Regions from separate parts of the Homo sapiens genome. Here regions 2 and 3 are each linked to region 1. The links are contacts of gene promoters, found by promoter capture Hi-C in human tissues and cell types (Jung and others, 2019). All regions are on one chromosome and are shown on one strand. The core of a region is centred on a gene start or on the middle of the fragment in contact, and the rest is flanking DNA. Distances in the headings are between cores, read along the strand shown.

The links. The method cuts DNA at HindIII sites, captures the fragments that hold promoters and counts their contacts. A contact is called where the count stands out against the background at its distance.
Region 2: a fragment that was not itself captured here is called in contact with the fragment with the promoter of C8orf17 in region 1 in 2 of the 25 tissues and cell types used here (aorta and hippocampus).
Region 3: a contact is called between a fragment that was not itself captured here and the fragment with the promoter of C8orf17 in region 1, in 1 of the 25 tissues and cell types used here (dorsolateral prefrontal cortex).

Annotation. Positions count from the first base shown.
Region 1 is chr8:139,929,169-139,933,276 of GRCh38, forward strand. It overlaps C8orf17 (chromosome 8 putative open reading frame 17), which reads left to right and starts at 2,252. Exons shown (of 1, transcript NR_172942.1): 1 at 2,252-4,108. All of the region lies in intron 19 of TRAPPC9 (trafficking protein particle complex subunit 9), which reads right to left. The HindIII fragment of the contact is 16,447 bases long and covers 1-4,108 here.
Region 2 is chr8:139,765,941-139,770,048 of GRCh38, forward strand. The region is part of intron 21 of TRAPPC9 (trafficking protein particle complex subunit 9); the gene reads right to left. Among named protein-coding and RNA genes, the nearest start is that of KCNK9, 65 kb to the left of the region's middle. The HindIII fragment of the contact is 9,949 bases long and covers 1-4,108 here.
Region 3 is chr8:140,084,036-140,088,143 of GRCh38, forward strand. The region is part of intron 17 of TRAPPC9 (trafficking protein particle complex subunit 9); the gene reads right to left. Among named protein-coding and RNA genes, the nearest start is that of PEG13, 14 kb to the right of the region's middle. The HindIII fragment of the contact is 6,549 bases long and covers 1-4,108 here.

The DNA of each region.
Region 1 (4,108 bases), core at 1,002-3,501:
CTACATTTTAGGTTTTATATACTTTTCTGTCACTTTCCCTGACAAAGTCACACAGGTAGGAACCATGACTGTCACATTTTAAACAACGATGTCTCTAAAGTCTTACAAAGCACAGCACAGAGTGGATGATCAATACATGAATCTACTGAAAGCTTGGGGTCACCAGGATAACAGATAACGTCTGATACATTTGAGTTAAGACAAGGTGCCTTGAAATAACTTTAGTGCAATGCCGTTCTCAAACACAGCAGTGGTCCCAGGCTTACAATAAAAAAAAAGGGAGGGGGCCGAGCGTGGTGGCTCACGCCTGTAATCCCAGCACTTTGGAAGGCCGAGGTGGGCGGATCATGAGAAAAAAAAAAAAGCTGAGCTGTCCTGTGCTTCGGGCAGCCTCAGTTCTTGGCTTTGGTTTTCTCTCCACACAGAGTTACCGTGCTGCCTGCTGCTTCTTCCTGAGCTACAGGCTTCCATGGTCTTCCAGAAGAATACTGTCCTCTTCTGAAACCATGTTTCTGCATATGCCCTGCTGCTTCAGGAACCATGGTGCCATGCACCCGACACATAGGTGTGTGGGGAGTGGACTCAGGTCCCTTGGCTGGTCACCCAGCAAGCCTGGGCAGCGCTGGCCAGGTGTTCAAGGAAGGCCCAGCAGAGCAGGCTAAGCTGGGATGGGCCTCTGGGGTCTGCCCTCCCCACCTTTCCATCCTCATCTCCAGCCCAGCCCCTCTCTGCCTCAGACCCTTCCATGTCCTGTAAAATGGAGCAAGCACCACCTTGTAGGTGCAGTCCTCAGGAGCAGCACCTGACACACAGAAGGCCATCAATATACGTGTTTGGCACTGTGCGTGGATTCTGCCGATTCTCTACACTTCTCTGTTATGAACAGGTAATTTAAAGAAAACATTGAGCATCGTGAATGGCATATGCTAGGGGCTGAACAAGCATAACTTCACTTCTCTTATTTCTGGGACCTCCCAGATGCCTAAGAGGTGACAGCCAAGGGGGTGACACTCAGGAAGAGCTGAGACCCTTAAGCCTTCTACGCACTATCTTAATGCATGTTTACCCCTCCATCCCAACTCCTGAGATGGGAAGGCTTATAGTGTGGGGCAGTGGGGCTGCGCCAGCCGGGAGTTGATGTGTAACGTGAACAAGATACAGCCAAGGTGAGCAGTGGCAAGGCCAGCGCGCTCACACAACACGGTTCTCGCCAGTCAACTTCTCCCGTGGTGTCGGTAGGGCAGGTGGGTGGCTCAGGATCACAGGGAAAACAAGGGGGTCGATGACTAGAGCCAAGCCTTGGAAAGGGACTTCTGTTCTGCTTTCCAAGCAGCAATGCTCGCATCAGACAGGAGATAGTCACACCCCTCTTTTTTCCATCCTAGACATCAAACAGACAAAATGGTACCAGTGACAGATTAATATTCAAAGGCCATCTTGATCCTTCTAGACCCGTCAAATACAATAAGGAGCATCCCCCGTGTTTAGCCCCATGGAGGAGGGAACTTATTTTGCAATGAGATTTCGTTTTCAACCAATCCTAGTAACCGGCCTTCCAGAGCTGGAGCTCCCTTAGAAACCCAGCCTCATTCCACCGCTGTCTCATAGATGAGACCCTCTGAGGAGACGCTCAAAACAGGGAAGGAGGCGAAAACGGGGCCACCCAAGGGTTATGAGGATGAAATCACGACGACAGCAACACTGTTGAGTGCTCAGTGTACGCTGGACACCTGCATTAGCTCATTGACTCTGCACTCGGTGGTGCCCCCTTTCATAGGTATGGAAAAAGGCACATGCAGGGTGCCCACCCTGCTGGAATCAGCCCTCAGGTCATGGAGCCTGTTCCCTGTCTGTCCAGGAAGCAACCCCGAGGCCCTGGCTCTTGTCCTCCCACCTCCCAAACTGCCCCAAAGGGGTGAGGAAAAGAGCTTCTAGATGATTCTAACCCCACCTCTATAACCGCAAGCTGTGAGATCCTCGGGAAACACTTCGACCTCATGAGGCTCAGTTTTCTAATCTGAAAAATGAGAATATTAACCATAGACAACTGCCACTCACTGAACACCAGCTGCAGTAGAGCCGAGCATACACGTAATCCTCACCGCAACCATAGGAGCTGGATCCTGACATCCCCATCTCACAGAGGAGGAGACTGAGGTTAATGACGTGGCAAATATCCACAATGACAGTTTCTGCAAGTCTTTCCTAGTGCAATCACCCACAACCACAGCCCTAGAAAGAAGGATGAACACTCTTCCACAGAGGCTGGCACGCACCTTAAGGCAGGTGCCCACTGGAACCCTGTCTGTGGTGTCAAGGATTTTACAGTTGACCTTGAAGACCACCTAGTCCAAAGCTCTCATTGTACAAAAAGCCAAGCCCAGAGGTCACACAAAGCTTTGGACCTGAGCCTCTGGGCCCCGCGGTCTGGAAAGTGCTCCTTTCTCTGCATGCTACGGGGCTATCAACTTGAGCTGGTCCAGTCTGCAGATCTACATCCTGCCCGCCTGAGCAGAGGCGGGTGTGGGACCAGTGCGGATCTCCACGATTTGTCAGCCCATCCTGATAAGTCTGAGGCTCTGACCATCATATCTCATCACAGCATCATTAGGATTACAAGTGCCATGCGGTAGAAGAGGAAGGGAAACACGAACAAAAGGATGAGAAATTAAGCCCATTTCACCCGGAAAAGATGACTCTGATTTATTGCTCTATAGCAGCTGACGATGGCCTGTCAGAGAAATTCTGTGTTGAAAATAAAGAATAAAAATCACCCAGAGTTGTTTTGCCACACATCCAAATTAGAAAATGCTACTCTCCGGATGATTTATGCTTCAATTTTTTCCCTTATTCACAGAGAATTTGTCCAGCATTACAAGAGCACCTAAGAGCAATAATACAATTCAAAAGGAGATAGAAGAGGCCGCAGAGGTGTTGATGTGCGGCTGAGGGCGGGGTGCTGGCCCAAAGGCAGGGCTTTGGTGCTCAGAAGCATTGACCTTACAGGGAGGAACAAGGAGAAACCAGCCAGGCAGGCCCCGCAGGCAGCCCACAGAGCCACTTCGCCGTGCAGCCGAGGGAGTCCCGCACCACGGGGCCTCGCTCAGGGTAGCCACCATGGGAGAATGTCCCCACCTCGTGGATGTCAGGCTTGGCCACAGGTCCTTGGCCACGGGACCTGAGCAGAGTGACATATGCCACACTGGATCAGAAGCACGCTGGACCACCACGTGGTATGGCTCCCTTTCTTTCTCCCGTCATAAGTACAAGATGTTGGCTGACCTGACTCCTGGGGTAGAAATGTCATGTAGACACTGGGCGCGGTGGCTCACGCCTGTAATCCCAGCACTTTGGAAGGCCGAGGCAGGTGGATTGCCTGAGCTCAGGAGTTCGAGACCAGCCTGGACAACATGGTGAAACCCGTCTCTACTAATTTACAAAAAAAATTAGCCAGGTGTGTTGGCACATGCCTGTAGTCCCAGCTACGTGGGAGGCTGAGGCACGAGAATTGCCTGAACCCCAGAGGTGGAGGTTGCAGTGAGCCGAGATGGTACCTCTGCACTGCAGCCTGGGCAACAGAATGAGACTGTGTCTTCAAAAAAAAAAAGCACTGTCATGCAGGGCAGGGTCCCAAGGCCCCAGCCAACCTCTCGTTGACATGTAATGTAAGAAGATGTCAACTCATGCTTATAGTCACTGACATTTAGGAATAGTCTGTTACCACAGCATAAGCTGGTAAAAAAAAAAAAAAAAATCATACAGCTCTTCTTCCCGGAACGCCCCTGCACCTCTGCTCCGGTGCACAAATGCTTTCTCTTCAAGGCATGGCGCAAAAAAGCCACTACTTCCAGAAGCATCTCCTCATTCCCCGCCGGGAGCAACATCTCTCTTCTCGAGACCCCAGCCCCTCCGCTGTCTACCCATGGACTTCCTCAGTGTTTGTTTTTTGCATGATTCTTTGTGACCAAGCTGTTTCTCCAGCTGCCTTGAGGACATGCCCTAGGGAACAGTGCTCTGAATCGTACCTGGATTCTGTGCCTACCTGCTCCATCTAAAGCAGAAAACTCCACAACTAAGATCTCTTCTAACATTTAAGGAATAGAGCCTA
Region 2 (4,108 bases), core at 1,178-3,677, 160 kb before region 1:
CACGCTGCTGGGGCTGCCTTGAAGGGCGCAGGTGTGGCCCTGAAGCTTTATCTCTCAAAGGGCTACCAGCACAAACATCATCACTGTGTAATTTCCATAGATGCAACAGCTAAAGTGCAAAGTAATCCAACAGTGAAATGTTTTGCTTTCTTTATTCCAAGGCCTCAGGGAACCTGTCAAATCCCCTTGGCCCCAAACACTAGGGCGCAGAGATGGAAAGAAAGAGGAGTTCTGACAGCCTCAGGCTCCCTCACCAGCTCTGCCAGCCCTGACGGGATGCGTGTCCTTGGGCGTGTCTGCCACCTGCTCAGGCTCAGCCCATCTGTAAAAGGAGGGGGCAGGCCAGGGAGTGTCTCTGCTCCCGTACTGGGGTCTGGCCATCCACAGTTGGCTCCACACCCCTGTGGCCCCTCATGCTGCAGTAATGCCCCCAGGCTGGGCCTGGCCTCCCTGTGCCCATCATGATCCTCCTACCTCAACAGTTGGCACAGTGGCTGTGCTCTGGGAGCCTCTCTCCCCAGGTTGCCTCTAAAATGTCACAACTGATTCCCCAAATGCAAGTTGTGGCTCTGTCTAAGTCCTTCAATAAATATGTACTGACTTCTGCACCAGGGGCTCTGGAATCAGACCTGTGTTCAGATCAGGACCTGGGAGTGCACACGCGGCCCCAGGTGCTCCTCCTCATTGATAACGACCTAACCGGCATCACGTGGGGACTCAGCAGCCCTTCCATGCAAGGTGCTCAACACACAGTTTCTATCATTAAGGTCCCCGCTCCTGAGGTCACTCACTGGAGGGAGACAACAGATCGGTCTCAGGCTCAGCCCTCTGCCCACAAGAGCTCCCCGCCTGGCTCCTCCTAAGAACACTTTCTTCAAGGCCCAAGCCAACGGAATGTCACATCCTTTGGGAATCATCCCTGTTCTCCTGAGGGAATTGCTGTCTTGTGCGTCCCGCAGACCTGTGGCTACAGCACTTATCATATGCTCTCTTGCGTCCTCACCTGCATGTCTGTGCCCACCACATGACTGTGAGCCCCTGGAGTGCGGCCCTGGCACAGGGCCCGGCTGGCAGTTGCTGGACCATGCCCCCTGGACTGTGCCCCCTGCTATGCCTGCTGAGGACGCCAACGAGGACCCTGATGATGACAAGGCCACGTGTCAGCTACCACATGGCTCCAGGTGCTTTACACATCATCTGATTTAGTGGAGACCTGGCGAGGCAGGAATTACTATTTCTTATATAACAAATAAGGCATCCTCTGAGAGGCGTAGGGACTAGCCCACATCACACAGCTAGACAGGGTACAGCACAGATGTGAGCCAAGTCTGTGCGCCTCCAAAGCCTTGCTTTTCCCACTCTGCCTGTGTTTTCTGAAGTGAGCTAAGTTCATCAACACGGGTAGAAAATGCAAACTGCTACCAGAGAAGGAGGATCCGTTTCTTCTGACACCAACAGGATGGCTGTCCCACAGAGCATCCCATCCTCACGAGGGCAGCATCCCGTCCTCACGAGGGCTCCGTCCCAGACAAAGTGGGAGGGAGTGAAAGGCCTCCAATGCTGGGTGAGACGGATCCAGGAGGAACATGCTGGCAGGTGCATGTGGGGGTGGAAGGGGGAGGGAGAGAAGATTCCAGATGGAGGGAACAGATGAACCAAGGTGCAGAGGTAGAGGCTTGGGCTTGAGCTGCACCAAGTAGCCCCTCTGGCCAGGCCCAGATTCTGCACAGAGAAGTGGAAATAACAAGCAGGACAAGCACTTCATCAAAGAAGAAACGCCAGCCACTGATGAGCACGTGGCAAGGCGCCAGGCCTCTCCAGTAATCAAAGAATGCAGGCTGAGAGACTGTAGCACAATTCTTTTTGGCCTAGTAGACTGGCATAGATTTTTAAGGAAAATAAAAGCTATTGCTGGCAAGAGTCAAGGGAAATGGATATTTTCATACATGGCTGATTAGAGTCTAAAAGCTGTAATATTTATGGAGGGCAACCTCACAAGTAGCAAACAGCCTTGAAAAATATACAGACCCTTTGACTCAGGGTCTATTCACATTGTTAATATGGGCAGATTTATAATACAACATTATTAATATGGCCAGATTTATAATATGGGCAGTATTGTAACACTGAGAAACTAAAAACTCCCTATAGTCCAAAAATATGGGGGGATGGGCTAAATACTTTCTGGAACATTTGCATAAAGGAATACTATGTAGCCATTAAAAATCATAATTTACATGTAGATTTGGCATGGAACATATTAAGTAAAAGCATAGTTTTACATATTAAGTAAAAGCATAGAAGAAATACATAAAGGAGGCAGTCATTTACTCAGCATTGAGGATCTGGTGCCTCCCAGGTGCTGGACCCTGGAGCCACAGCAGTGAATATGACAGCTGTGACCCTAGCTCCTGCAGTTCCCTGGGCAGTCAGGGAACTGGGGGCACGGGGCAGGCAGGTTTTGCCACCCACCAGTGGTGGGCCAGGCCCTGCGGGCCACACCGACTGCGCTGGCCTGGAAGACCCTGGCCATATTTTCAGTGATGTCTAATTTTGAATAAAATATGTACCTGGAAAATCATCTAGAAAGCTGCATACCTATCTGTTAGTGGTCACCATCTCTGGATGGTGGGATTTCTGGTAATAGTCCATTTCTTCTTTGTGTTCACCTCCAATTGTTAGTTTTCTACAATGAGCATGACTTCCGTTTTCATTTTAATTCATCAACAGGGGTTATCTAAACACAGAGCTCATAGCTCACTTTTATTCTAATCTTTGTACAGCTCTATTAAATGTCTACTAACATACGTGACACCTAGTGTTAGGGGCTGAATCGTGACTCCAAAAATTCCCATGTTGAAGCCCTAAAGCCCAGTACAATACCTCGGGGGGGAATGTATTTAGAGACAGGGCCTTCAAAGACATACAAAGTAAAATGAGGCCCAAGATGGGCCCAATCCTCTCGGACTGGTGTCATTATAAGAGGAGATTAAAACAGACACACACAGAGGGAAGACACAGGAAGAAGGCAGTCGTCTACAGGCCAAGGAGCGAGGCCTCAGAAGAAACCAGTGCTGCCGACATCTTGACCTTGAATTTCTATGAATTTCGAGACTCCACAACTGTCAGAAATAACTTTTTGTTGTCTAAGCCACACAGTCTGTAGTGCTTTGTTAGAAAAACTACTACAGTAACCCTGTTATCCTCGGGGGCAGGTTCCAAGACCCCCAGTGGACGGCTGAAACCTCAGATAGTACTGAACCCTATATACACTATGTTTTTTCCTCGACATACATACCTATGATAAAGTTTAACTTATGTATTAGGCATAGTGAGAGACTTACAATATTAACTAATAACACAAAAGAACAATTGAGTAAAATAAGAGTGACTGAATGCCAGCACTACAACACAGCAGCTGATCTGACGGCAGACACCTCCTAGGTGGCTCAGGGTGGGGAATGTGCACAGCGTGGATTCACTGGACAAAGGGAGATGCAGGGCATGACGGGCAAGATGTCACCATGCTACTCTGAGCACTGCACAATTTAAAACCTACGAATTGTTTATTTCTGGAATTTTCCATTTCACATTTTCAATCTATGGTTGAACGAGGGTCACTGAAACCAAGGAAAGCAAAACCGAGGATAAGGGAGGACTGCTGCACTTCCAGATACTTTTAGAAAGAAGCAAATGCAAACACAGAATACAAACAAAAATAAAGTGAAGAATAAAAATAAGATTGAATAGTAATGATCCAAAGGCTTAAAATAAGCAGTAACCTAGATCTCATAGGTCAGAGAAAATGAGTGGAAGAACTAATATTCACTAAATTTTAGGTAGAGCATGAATTACTTTTATACTGATTTGTACAAATTGTTTAAAACATGCTTAAAAAGAAGAAGAAATACATAAAGGAAGTGGTCATTTACTCAGCATCTAGGATCTGGTGCCTGCCGGGTGCTGGACCCTGGAGCCACAGCAGTGAATATGACACTTGTGACCCTAGCTCCTGCAACTCCCCAGGGAAGGCAGGGAACTGGGGGCACGGGGCAGGCAGGTTTTGCCACCCGCCAGTGGTGGGCCAGGCCCTGTGGGCCACACTGAC
Region 3 (4,108 bases), core at 469-2,968, 150 kb after region 1:
TGTTCACAGGCACCATCATCCAAGTGACTGTTTTAATAAAAAGCTTAGAATAGTATGTATCATGGAGTAGGCACTCAGAAAATGGTAGCTATTATTATTATAATTATGCATAGAAAAGGGAATAACAACATACAATGATTGAGGCTGGGCAGTGGAACCATGGTTAATTTTTTTCCTCCAACATTCTTACAATTTTAGCATCTTCTATAGTAAACATGTTATACTGCTATAATGAAAATAAATCTCTATAAATCTAAAACTGTCCACTTAAAAATCCTAAATAGATAGGGTAATAAAAATATTATTAGTCTCCTCACTTTCACTTCCTTTCTGCCTCAGATGGGAACCCAGCTGTTTTAATCCACATATAATTGCCTCATCCATGGTAAACAGGCTGAGCGTGTCCCTTCTCTGGTTAAAAGCCTTCAATAGTAGCCTATAGGATGATATCCAGGCTCACCACATGACACTCAAGGGCCTTCATGATCTGACCCAAGCCTACCTTTCTAAAAGGCCAGCATGGAAATCAGAATGTATCACTTCCCCAGTGCTAATGTCGCCTTCTGAGTTCTTCTGCCCAAGAACCGCCGAGGACAAGGCTGCTGACTGACAGGCAGGCCCAGGACTGTCCAAGGCTCCCAGTGGTGAGCAGCATCCTGAAAGATCTGGCATGGTCCTTGGCCCCTCAGCCAGGTGATGCATCTGTCAGAAAGCCCTGGCTCTGGGGCCTGAAACCTCAAAGGGTAGGATAAGCTTTTTCCTCCCTTGGAGACGTTTACCAAGCATGAGTAAGTGCCAGCCACAGGGCTAAGCTCTTGCCTGGTATCTTCTATCCTTGGAGTAAGTGTATCATTAGGCTCCTGTTACAGACAGGAAACTGATATCCAGTGGGGTATGGTAACTTGCCCAAGAGGAGAGGCCTGGGATGAGCGTTAGGCTGGACTCCGAGGCCTATGCTCGCAACGCTCGACTCTGAAAGCTTTACATCTGTGTGATCTATAGCCAATCCAGGTACAGATTCATGGAGAGTGGAGATGGGGGTGCAGGGAGAGCACACTCTGCAGAGCTCCATGTTTCACTGCAAACACCTTTTGCAAACCTCATGCCCCATGACTCTTTGAAAAAGAGAGTTCCCCGACGCTCCACAGTCTCTCCTGCTGTAGTTACAGGAGTGACGTGGACTATGTGATGAAGGCTCCACGAGCCCACACGCCCACGTCCAGCAGGACTACACCACTTGCCCTTATTTTACACTTTGGGTTCCTGCTGCATAAGTATGTTTGCAGAAAGAATCTTACTGTTTAAAAAAAAAAAAAAAGGCTTGGAAACCACTGGTCTAGACTGAAAAACAGAAATTTCAACCTCTTGTATCTTTACCATCCTGATAAAATCTCTCTCTTTAAATATAAACCATCCTTTCTTTTCCATGCAGAAGCTCTTTCTGTTGTGAAATGAGAACCACCAAAACCTCTCTCGAATGGAAATGCCAGGGAAGCCCCGTCAGGCAGCCCGGCCTAAGCTCTGAGGACTGGGTTCACTGAAGCCGACGTGCTGGAGGGAGCCCAGGACTTTCAATCCCACCAGGTGACCAATTCTGCTATTTCAGAGTGAGCATCCCCCTTCTGCTCTGCCTACTCACTTAGAGAAGAAAGGGGCAAGTCATGGACGGCAGCAGCCTGCTGAGGTCCACGCCACCCTGCCCCTACAAAAGCAGATGACAGCCTCTGCTGTGGGTAATCGTGTCCCGATCTGGCGCGTTCCACATGGGGAGCCACAGCCTATCTCTGTCAACGCATTGCCTCTCATTTCTCTGATTCATTGTTAAAAATAAACATTTCTTCTTCAAAGTGCTGGCAGAACTCTCCCCTAAGCCTATAGCTTCCCCCCACCCCACACCCCCTTAGGAATCACTGTGGTTTTTTCTAAGGGTAGGCTGGCAGAAGGAAATAAAAATGAAGCCGTTCAGACTTGCACACACAACTCTAAGAAGACTTCTCCATTTTCTAACTATGACTTTCCCCACCTGAAGCAGAAGGCAACCTAGCAGGTTACCAGATCCTTCCCATCCTCCTGAAGACTAAACCAGAAACAAAGCCTAACCAGGGCTTGGATCGTGTGCTGGAGAGCGGGTATGGTGTGGGTGAAAGACACAGGTTTTGAAATGTGCTACCACAAAGAAAGTACAAGAGGATCCCAGAGTATGGAGGATGAAGAAGGAGGGGAGAGAGGAGATGGTGGGAGAGGAAGAAGGACAGGGGAAGACGATGAAAGGAGCAGGGAGAGGCAAGAAGAGACAGAAGAAGCGGGGTAGAAATGGAAGGGGAGCAGGTGAGGCAGTCGGTTGAAATGACACGTCTCTCCACCAACAATTTTGCACTGCAGCCCCACATAGCCCCTTTCCTCTGTGATGAGGGCAGCAGCCTCCCCATGGCTCTCAGGGGCCACAGCTCCACCTGTGCCCTGGTGCCCAGCTCCTGCTGCCTCTGGGGGATTGGTCCCAGGCACCCCATCCCGTCCTGCTCCACCCGTCTCTTCCACTGTTCAATCCTTGTCAGTGCACACAATCACACACTGCCAACACCACCTTCAAAACATCCCTCTCTCGGCCAGGCGTGGTGGCTCATGCCTGTAATCCCAGCACTTTGGGCGGCCGAGGCTTGGGATCCTGGGTGGATCACAAGGTCAGGAGTTCAAGACCAGCCTGACCAAGATGGAGAAACCCCATCTCTACTTTTTTAAAAATACAAAAATTAGCCGGGTGCAGTGGCAGGCGCCTGTAATCCCAACTACTCGGGAGGCTGAAGGAGAATTGCTTGAACCCAGGTGGCAGCAGTTGCAGTGAGCCAAGATCACGCCACTGTACTCTAGCCTGGGCAACAGAGTGAGACTGTCTCAAAAAAAGAAAAAAAAAATCCCTCTCTTCATCCCACACCTCCCTCCAGCCACCATCCTGTTTCCCTGTTCTCTACAGCAGAGCTCCTGCAAGCACTGCCTGCTCGGGCTGGCTCTACTTCTTGCCACCGTCAGCCTGCCATCCTCCTACTCCTCTGAAATGACTCTTTCCAATCTCAAAGCCAGTGGTCAACATCCTGGCCTTGTCTTCCTGACGTTCTCAGCAGCTGTCATTTGCTCCTAAGCCACGCCCCATGTTTCCAGCTTTTGAGCTGCCTGCTTTTCTTCCCAGTCCCTGGCTCTTCCTCCTCTGTCTCCCGTGCCCTCCCCCCGGCCCCATCACCCTGCAGATGTCGGGGTGCCTCGAAAGCACAGCACTCTATCTCTGCAACCCCCTCAGGAATGTCATCCAGGCCCAGGATTTTAAACGCTGCCTCTAAGCTGCTGACTCTCACACTTCTCCCTCCAGCCCAGACCTCTCCCTGGAGCACAGATGGAACACCAACAGGCTCCCGCACAGCCCCGCTGAAGAGCCGAACGGTGCTCACACATGACTCGCCTGAAGAATATGGTTGTGTTTTCCCCACATTCTAATCCCCACCGAGCTTCCTCCATCTCAGTAAATAAAACAACCACCGTCCAGCTGCTCAGGCCAAAACCTTAAAAGACACCCTTGCTTATTCTTCAGTGCATCTAAGGTCTGACCACTGTCGCCAACCTCCTCTGCTGCCGCCCTCATCCAAGCCACTGTCATCGCTTGTCTGGACAATGCCACTGGCTCCCCACCTCGTCTCCCCTGCCTCTACTCGTCCACGTTTCCCTCTCCACCCTGCAATCCATCTCCAACCAGCAGTCACAGTGACCATTCTCATGCATGACGAGCAACCGCACCATTCCCTGGCTCTCTCCTGCAGCTTGTCGCCGCCAGCCCCAGAAAAACCCACCATCACTGACAAGGTCCTGGAGAGCAGGCTTCAGCTCCCAGCTCCTCCATTACCACGTGGTACCATCTCTGGGCCTCTGCACCAGCTGTGATTTCTGCTTGGAAGATGTGGCTTACCAGAGCCCCTAGCTCTTTAGATGGCTATCTCTTTCTCATGGTTCAGACCTCAGGACAAATGCTACCTCCTCAAGAGATGCTCCTTGGTCACTCTGGCTATACAAGCCTCCCTAGTCCTTCTGGACCATATACTCATATTTCTTCCTGGAACTGGCA